Regions from separate parts of the Homo sapiens genome. Here regions 2 and 3 are each linked to region 1. Evidence: promoter capture Hi-C in 16 types of primary human blood cells and fetal thymus (Javierre and others, 2016). All regions are on one chromosome and are shown on one strand. The core of a region is centred on a gene start or on the middle of the fragment in contact, and the rest is flanking DNA. Distances in the headings are between cores, read along the strand shown. Region 1 holds the start of BFSP2 (beaded filament structural protein 2). Region 2 overlaps TMEM108 (transmembrane protein 108). Region 3 has its middle 26 kb from the start of TMEM108.

Region 1 (3,347 bases), core at 794-3,293:
GTGGTGTCAAAGTACATCCCCCCCTCTTTCTCCCTGTCTCCAGGGCTGAGTGGATTTATATAGTAAATATCTTTGGTCCGGAGAAGTCTGAAGTTAACCTGGCCATTGAGTGTTACCATTCTGTAGAGAATAACAATGCCTAAACATGACACATTTGTGCACAACTTAATCAGTAGCCTGAACTTTTCATTCAGCCTTGGACAATACATCTTGGAATTCACAATAATGCAGATCCTCAGAACCAAGTCAGTGTCATCCGTATAGGAGGCTGTTACTGTAACACAGGCTCGCATGCCCCTTCTGGGTGCATCAGGGGTGGTGTTCACAGCATTAATGCTACATCTGAATAAACAAGGACACTACTGGCCTTTACTTAATCCAATTGGTTCTTTCATCTGTTCATCAAATAGCCAACACTGATATTTATAAAATACCTCCCAGGCCATCTCAGAGAGACAAAGTGGAAGACAATAAAGAAAGGAAGGGTTGGAGTGTCCTGGTCAGTAGGAAGGAAGTGCACACAGGGTCCTCTAGTAGGCGACCAGGTTTTTTACCTCTACCTGCGTGACCTCAGGTAGGTACTCTGCTCTCTGGGTGGTGGGCAACAGGGAGGCTCCTAAGTAAGTCAGTGGCCCAGAGTTTGGAAGAGGTTGTCTGCCCCCAGCTCTGCTACTTTCTGGACATAGAACCTTGGGCAAGTCATTGCAGCTCTCGGGGTCCTCCTCACATAAGAGGACAGTGGCCAACTGTAGGACATGTCATTTTAGAGCTGTGAGGTACACAGCCCATATGGCAGTACCTGTCAACCCTGGACCTCCTTCCTCCTGAGGTTGAGTTGAGAATTCCACGAAATAAACCATAGGATTCATGCACACACCAGGCTGGATCTGCTACTCACTAGAGATTGACTCCCTTCTCCTTCTCTCACCTGAGGTACATTCCTACATTACAGCATCTGGAAAAGTATCCAGCTCTGGGGTTTGGTGACCTGGTTTCTCCAGGGTAAAACTTATGTACAGAGGTTTTTAGGTCCATGTTGTCATCCTGTAACTGGGGGAACCTTTCTGATCCTAGAGAAGTGATTGAGGTGTGACCCTTGGTGGCTTAGTGGATGCCAAGGTCAATAATTAAAACCCAGGGGTGTCATCATATCCTAACTTGGGGCACCCTTGGAGAGGCTTACCAGAAAACACCCTCGTTGTTGTTTTTATTTCTCAGTTTTCCAACAGATGGAGAAGCAGAGGTGTAGGGAATGGCCGGAACATGTGTGGGATCTGAATTTGCCCAAGGTCCTTATCTGGTGCATCAGAGAGTTAAAGGCCCAAGCCAATGTTCAGACAGTGAGGTCCAGAGGGAGGAAGCATCCTGGCCAACAGCAAGCAGCTGATGAACAGCAGAGCATTAGAGGACAGAGATGAGGAGGAAAGGAGAGAGGTGAGGGAAGGACCTGAAGCTGCTGCCAGGACTGAGAGAGGAAACCATAGGCAAGTCTTTTCTCTTGGGTCCCTGGAGCTGCCTCCTGCCATTTTTCATCCTCTATTGCCTGTGTGGACATGTGTTCACATTCACATGTGCCAGCACACATAGGGATGTAGAAAGCCCTGAAATAGCTAGATTGAGTCCTAGCTTGTAATCTGAGGTCTGGGGCAAGTGATCAGTACACTTGTCATCTGAGGTCCTTGAGCCTCAGTTTACTCATCTGTAAAATGGGGTTGCTTGATGCCTGCCTTGCCCACTTAGGTAGTAAAATGCACAAACCCAAATGGTCTACCTCCACAGCCTGCACTGATCCAGCCTCCCCCACCACCAGCAGAATAATCTGGGAGGTTGGGCACATGACCCTGCATCAAAGAATGCATGAGTGCCTCTCTGCACACAGCCCTGGGCAGTGCCCATTTCTCTTTCAGCTCAGTGAATGATGGAAACTCATGGAAGACAGCAGACAAAGCAGCCCCAGGGATAGGGGAGATTCCAGAGAGGCCCGTGACCAGGCCACAGGGATGCTGGGGCTGTAAACCAAAAGCCACTGGACTCTGTAAACCCACTGGGCACCACAGAGGCAGAAGGGGTGATGAGTGAGAGGCGAGTGGTAGTGGACTTGCCCACCAGTGCCAGCTCCAGCATGCCCCTCCAGAGGCGCAGGGCGTCCTTCAGGGGGCCACGGTCATCATCCTCCCTGGAGAGCCCCCCAGCCTCCAGGACCAATGCCATGAGTGGCCTTGTCCGAGCACCCGGGGTCTATGTAGGAACAGCACCCAGTGGGTGCATAGGTGGCTTGGGTGCCCGTGTGACCCGCCGGGCCCTCGGCATCAGCAGTGTCTTCCTTCAGGGCCTGCGGAGCTCAGGCCTGGCCACCGTGCCGGCTCCAGGTTTGGAGAGGGACCATGGTGCTGTTGAGGACCTAGGGGGCTGCCTGGTGGAATATATGGCCAAAGTGCACGCCCTTGAGCAAGTCAGTCAGGAGCTGGAAACACAACTGCGGATGCACCTGGAGAGCAAAGCCACACGCTCGGGAAACTGGGGTGCCCTACGGGCTTCCTGGGCCAGCAGCTGCCAGCAGGTAAGTGTCCAGGCTGTGCCAAGGGCTTTGCAGAGGGCTGGGAGGGGCTGCTGAAGGCAGCGGGTAGGGTTGTGAGTAGGCTGAGGCCAGAGAAACTGACCATAATCCCCTACACTTTCACACTTAAAATGGTAATGATAACAACAATGCTACCTTTTACCGAGGTTTACTAGGAGCCCACGCTAGCCCCCATACGTGCACTACCCACTGTCTTCTTTAAACTTCAAAGAAATGCTATGCAGTGGATCATTCACTGATTGCATTTTTCAGATGAGAAACTGAGGCATGTAATTTGCCCAAGACTTCAAAGCTAGTAGAGGGATGGAGATGAGATTTGAACCTGAATTTTTGTGCCTCCAAAGTTGCATTTGCCCCATTACCCTGGGGCTGCCTCAGTCACCTTTACTGTTGAGAAGGGATTTTTACAGCTATTATCCAATCAAATACCATTGGATGGATGAGGTGTTAAGAACAATGAATAAATGGAGGTGTGTTCCTGTATCCACCTACAACCACGCTGTTCAATAGAAATATGAACTACATTGGTAATTGACAAGTTTCTATTACCCACAGTAAAACACGTAAAAAGAAGCAGGTGAAGTTAATATTATAGCTTATTTAACTCTATATGTCCAGAATGTTATTTCAACATGTAATCAATACAAAATATATTAATGAGGTAATTTACATTCAAGTAGAGCTTTCTGCGTGATGGAAATATTAATATCTTATATCTGCACTGTCCAATCTGGCAGCCACTAGCCATATATGGCTATCAAGCACTTGA
Region 2 (3,027 bases), core at 383-2,882, 320 kb before region 1:
ACTGATCATTTTCAAATCATTTATCCAGCGAATAGATATTGACATATTATTTTGCATGTTATTCTCTGCTCAAAACTGTAAGGGTGTTAAGATGCTTAAAACATGATTGCTGCCTTTCAGAAACTTTCAGCCATTAAATTGAGAAGAGAAGACAAACTTGCAAAATATAATAATAGTTATATAAATATTGAATTCAGCGAGAAGTGCCGGTGGTATATAATTAGGTTCTAGAAGAATGGATCAGATAGCTGTGACTTACGAAGGGGAAGACATAATTGCTGACTGCATTTTACTAAACCATTTATTTCCTCCTGGATTTGTTCCCTGTGTGTAAAGAGGGGCCTTCAACCCTGGTCAGGTGAGATGGAATATGCAATGCATATACATTTATCTGGAACTTTGTCCAGAGAATGGGTCTTTCAAAAAACAGAGTTACATAAATCCTCTCAGTGATTCTTTGGGGATTGTTGAGATGTTCGTCATTATCTTTATTTTGCAGGTGCCTTAGTCCGTTTGGGTTGCTATACCAGAATAATATAGACTAGGTGGCTTGTAAACAACAGAAATGGATTTCTTACAGTTGTGTAGGCTGGAAGTCCAAGATCAAGGTGGCAAGCTGATTCAATATCTGATGAGGGTCCGCTTCTGGTTTACAGGTAGCCATCTACTTTCTTTGTCCTCACGTGGCAGAAAGGAGCAAAGGTCCTCTCTGGAGTCCCTCTTACAAGGGCACTCATCCCATTCTTGAGAGTTCATGATCTAATCATGTCTGAAAGGCCCTATGTCCAGGTACCATCACATTAGGATTAGGTTCAGCATGTGAATTTTGGGAGGACACAAACATTCTGTTTATGGCAGCAGGTAAGGAACTGCAGGTCAGAAGGGCCCCAGCAAAGTATCATTCTGAAATGAATGACAGATGGGACAGGCACGAAGCTTGAAAGCGAGGAATAAGGGTGTGTCTTGCTTGACTGTGACCGTCTTGCTTACCTGCTGAGGCAGAGGTGCTAGGTATGCCTTCTCTTCAAGGCAGGGCCTCATCATGTAAAGGAGCTTCTGGGTGGAGGCTGAGTGCTTTCTCTATATAGCCAGAGGCCTCACTCCAATGCTTGGGGTGTGAGATCTAAGTTTTGCACAGATGTCTTCTTGCTACAGGCCAAGGCCACAATTAGGGGGAATGGACTCTTTCCACATACTTACTTGTCATCTCGTCCAAGGTAGATGCTTGATAAAATAGTGCTGTATGCTAAAGTGAGCTGCCTAAGCTTCCCTACACATGAAAAAGAAGCCTAGAGGAGAGCACAGATGGGGGACCGTTCAACTGCATTCCCAAGAGCATTATCCCTAACAGGGATAATGGCAGGATGTCCACTGTCTGCGGCCCCTTCTTTTGCCATTCTTTTACATTCATTGCTGTAGAGGGTATAAATAGGAATAAGGAACTGATGGCTATGTGAAGGTGAATTTCAAACTCTTTGAGTTGTGATTAACTTCCAGAGGCCTCAAAATAACTGATTTACATAAAGTATGATGCAGAAACTAAGCCACTCATTTACATCTTCACCATATTTTTTGCATGTAAGGACATATGTTGGTTACCTTTGGTCTTGACAATAACTTCAAGGAAGGAATGCTTTGTCTAATCCTTGTTCCTTCTTCAAGGCCCAACTCAAACACTTTCTCCCCTGGAATCCTTCCCAGAGCTCTTTAGTCAGAATTAATGATCCTATATACCTTTCCATAGCTCTTTGTTCATATCTCTTCACATATTTGGTTATTCACATGTGTGTTCATTTCCTTCATTCAACTCATATATTGTTTTTTTTTACACTCAGAAGCTGAAATTAGTAGACACTTAGTGCTACATGCTGATTGTAAAGTGTATATCTAGAGGAAAGCCAGTACAGTTCAATGTACCCAGTGTGAAGTACTTTCATCCTAGTACTTAATATTTGGATATTTTCTCCATTTTTTTTAAATACTAGGACTTGCGTGAATGAAAGCTTAGTCTCTAGATAGACACAAGTAGGGTCTCTTCACATGAAAAAGGAACTCATCCTCTTCCCCTTTAGCTCCTTAAAGCTTCTCCTCTGGGTGGCAGAGTCGTTTGATGAAAGGAACATGAACTTTAAGCTGACCAGATGGGTGATCTTGGGTAAGTTATTCTTATCTTTCCACATAACAACTTCTCGGATATAAAATGTGGATAATTACAGTTTCCTTGAACAGTTCCATAGCACAGTGTCGTCACTTCTCATGCCTTCATCCATACCTTCATCATTTCTCATCTGGACGTTTCACTGGAAGATGACTGTCCTAGCTCAGGCTGCCATCACAAAATACCATAGACTGGGCGGTTTGACAAGAGAAATTTGTTTTCTCACAGTTCTGAATGCGGGAAATTTGAGATCAGGGTACCAGTATGGTCAGAATATGGTGAGGGTTTTCTTCCCAGTTTGCAGATGGCCACCTCCTTGACGTGTTCTCACACGGCAGAAAGGGAAAGAATAAGCACTCTGGTATCTCTTCTTATAAAGGCACTAATCTCATCATAGGGGCCTCACCCTCATGACCTCATCTAAATCTAATTACCTCCCAAAGACTCCATCTACAAATACTATCACATTAGGGCTTCAACATATGAATTTGGGGGGAACGCAATTCAGTTCACAGCAATGATTGTGCCATTCCTTCAATCCATTCTTGCTATATGGAATATAGATCTGTCACATTTCCCTGCAGGCCAGAATAAAATTCACATTTCTTTGCATAACACTTGTAACTCTGACTCTTATTTAATGCTTCAGCATTGTATCTCTCTGCCTTCATGTTGGTTGGTTCTTCCAGGAAGCAGACACCAACATGGGATTAGAAATGCAAAAGATCTATTGGGGAAAGATAATAGGGAAAGGGAAAAAGAGTAGGTAGGGAAACTTTAGACTGCAATACCAAGTGAGACACATGAAAAAGAAAGGAATCAAGTACAATCAGATAGGAAGAGCATTGTACTGCAATGTAACTCTGAGC
Region 3 (2,980 bases), core at 3-2,502, 390 kb before region 1:
AAAACCAATCATGCCTTCCCAACAGTGCCCCAAAGTCTTAACTCAATTAAGCATTAATCCAATTAATTCAGCATTAATCCAAAAGTCCACAGTCCAAAGTCTCATCTGAGATAAGGCAAGTCCCTTCCACCTGTGAGCCTGTAAAATCAAAAGCAAGCTAGTTACTTCCTAGATACAATGGGGTACAGGTATTGGGTAAATACAGCCATTCCTTATGGGAGAAATTGGCCAAAACAAAGGGGTTACAGGGCCTATCCAAGTCCAAAATCCAGCAGGGTAGTCACATTTTAAAGCTCCAAAATGATCTCCTTTGACTCCAGGTCTCACATCCAGGTCACACTGATGCAAGAGGTGGGTACCCATGGTCTTGGACAGCTCCGCCCCTGTGTCTTTGCAGGGTACAGCCTCCCTCTTGGCTGCTTTCATGGGCTGGTGTTGTGTCTGCAGCTTTTCCAGGTACACGGTGCAAGCTGTCAGTGGATCTACCATTCTGGGGTCTGGAAAATGGTGGCCCTCTTCTCACAGCTCCACTAGGAAGTGCCCCAGTAGGGACTCTGTGAGGGTGCTCCGATCCCACATTTTCCTTCAGCACTGCCCTAGCAGAGGTTCTCCATGAGGGCCCTGCCTCTGCCACAAACTTTTGCCTGGGCATTCAGGCTTTTCCATACATCTTCTGAAATCTAGGCAGAGGTTTCCAAACCTCAATTTTTGAATTCTGTGCATAAGCAGGCACAGCAGCACATGGAAGCTGCCAAGGCTTGGGGCTCCCACCCTCTGAAGCCACAGCTTGAGCTCTGTGTTGGCCCCTTTCATCCACAGCTAGAGTGGCTGGGACACAGGGCACCAAGTCCCTAGGCTGCACATAGCAGGGGCACCCTGGGCCTGGCCCATGAAACCACTTTTTCCTCCTGGGCCTCCAGGCCTGTGATGGGAGGGGCTGCCATGAAGGTCTCTGACATGGTCTGGAGACATTTTCCTCATGGTCTTGGGGATTAACATTAGGCTTCTTGCTACTTACGCACATTCTGGCAGCCAGTTTGAATTTCTTCTGAAAAAAATGGTTTTTTTCCCACTGCATCACCAGGCTGCAAATTTTCTGAACTTTAATGCTCTGTTTCCCTTTTAAAACATAATGCTTTTAACAGCACCCAAGTTGCCTTTTGAATGCTTTGCTGCTTAGAAATTTCTTCCCCCAGATACCCTAAATCATCTCTCTCAAGTTCAAAGTTCTACAAATCTCTAGGGCAGGAACAAAATGCCGCTAGTCTCTTTGCTAAAACATAATAAGAGTCACCTTTGCTCCAGTTCCCAACAGGTCCCTCATCTCCATCTGAGACCACCTCAGCCTGAACCTTATTGTTCATATCACTATCAGCATTTTTGCCAAAGCCATTCAACAAGTCTCTAGGACGTTCCAAACTTTCCCACATTTTTCTGTCTTCTTCTGAGTCCCCCAAATTGTTCCAACCTCTGCCTGTTACCCAGTTCCAAAGTCACTTCCACATTTTTGGGCCCATTTTTGGGTATATTTTCAGCAGTGCCCGACTCTACTGGTACCAATTTTACGGTATTAGTTCATTTTCATGCTGCTGATAAAGGCAAACCCGAAACTGGGAATAAAAAGAGGTTTAATTGGACTTACAGTTCCGTATGGCTGGGGAGGCTTCAGAATCATGGCAGCAGGCAAAAGGCACTTCTTACATGGTGGTGGCAAGAAAAAAAATGAGGAGGAAGCAAAAGTGGAAACCCTTGATAAACCCATCAGATCTCATGAGACTTACTATCACAAAAATAGCATGGGAAAGACCAGCCCCCATGATTCCATTTCATCCTCCTGGGTCCCTCCCACAACAAGTAGGGATTCTGGGAGATACAATTCAAGTTAAGATTTGGGTGGTGGGGACACAGCCAAACCATATCACTTGGCCAGGCCCAGGACCCTGCTGATCTGTGCAGCCACAGAACACTTCACCCTGCATCCCAGCTGCTCCAGCTCCAGCCATGGTTCAAAGGGGCCCAGGTACACCCAATATCCCAGCTGCTCCAGCTCTAGCTGCTTCAAAAGGTGCAAGCATAAACCTTGGTGGCTTACAGTGTTAAACCTGTGGGCACTCAGAGTGCAATACTTGAGGCTTGGGAGCCTCCACCTGAATGTCAGAGGTTGTATAGAAAAGTCTAGATATATAGGCAGGAGCCTGTTGCAAGGGTGGAGCCCTCATGGGGAACCTCTACTAGGGAAGTGCAGAGGGGAAATGAGGGGTTGCAGCCACCACACAAAGTCCCCACTGGGGCACTGCCTAGTGGAGCTGTGAGAAGAGGGCCACTGTCCTCTAGACCCCAGAATGGTAGATCCATTGACAGCTTGCATCCTACACCTGGAAAAGCCACAAGTACTCATCATCAACCCATGAGAGCAGCCACAGGGTTTGCACCCTGCAAAGAGAGAGGGGTGGAGCTGCCCAAGTCCTTGGGAGCCCACCTTTTGCATCAGTGTGCCTTGGATGTAAGACATGGAGTCAAAGGAGACTATTTTGGAGCTTTAAAATCTAACGACTGAGGCGGGAGCAGTGGCTCACACCTGTAATCCCAGCACTTTGGGAGGCCGAGGCAGGTGGATCACAAGGTCAGGAGTTTGAGACCAGCCTGGCCAGCATGGTGAAACCCTGTCTCTACTAAAAATACAAAAAATTAGCTGGGCATGGTGGCACGTGCCTATAGTCCCAGCTACTCAGGAGGCTGAGGCAGGAGAATTGCTTGAACCCAGCAGGCGGAGGTTGCAGACTGCACTCCAGACTGGGTGACAGAGCAAGACTCTGTCTCAAAACAAACAAAAAAAATTAATGACTGCCCTGCTGAGTTTCAGACTTGCATGCAGTCTGTAGCCCCCTTTTTTGGCCAATTTCTCCTTTTTGGAATGGGAGTATTTACCCAATGCCTATACCCCCATTGTATCTTGGATGTAACTAACTTGCTTTTATTT

The links. The method cuts DNA at HindIII sites, captures the fragments that hold promoters and counts their contacts. A CHiCAGO score of 5 or more calls a contact.
Region 2: a fragment that was not itself captured here is called in contact with the fragment with the promoter of BFSP2 in region 1 in 2 of 17 cell types (megakaryocytes and endothelial precursors); the score reaches 6.4 in megakaryocytes.
Region 3: a fragment that was not itself captured here is called in contact with the fragment with the promoter of BFSP2 in region 1 in 1 of 17 cell types (erythroblasts); the score reaches 5.1 in erythroblasts.

The regions. Positions count from the first base shown.
Region 1 is chr3:133,398,013-133,401,359 of GRCh38, forward strand. It overlaps BFSP2 (beaded filament structural protein 2), which reads left to right and starts at 2,044. Exons shown (of 7, transcript NM_003571.4): 1 at 2,044-2,560. The coding sequence starts at 2,072. The HindIII fragment of the contact is 8,153 bases long and covers 1-3,347 here.
Region 2 is chr3:133,078,851-133,081,877 of GRCh38, forward strand. All of the region lies in intron 2 of TMEM108 (transmembrane protein 108), which reads left to right. Among named protein-coding and RNA genes, the nearest start is that of TMEM108, 42 kb to the left of the region's middle. The HindIII fragment of the contact is 738 bases long and covers 1,264-2,001 here.
Region 3 is chr3:133,011,002-133,013,981 of GRCh38, forward strand. No RefSeq gene overlaps it. Among named protein-coding and RNA genes, the nearest start is that of TMEM108, 26 kb to the right of the region's middle. The HindIII fragment of the contact is 3,567 bases long and covers 1-2,980 here.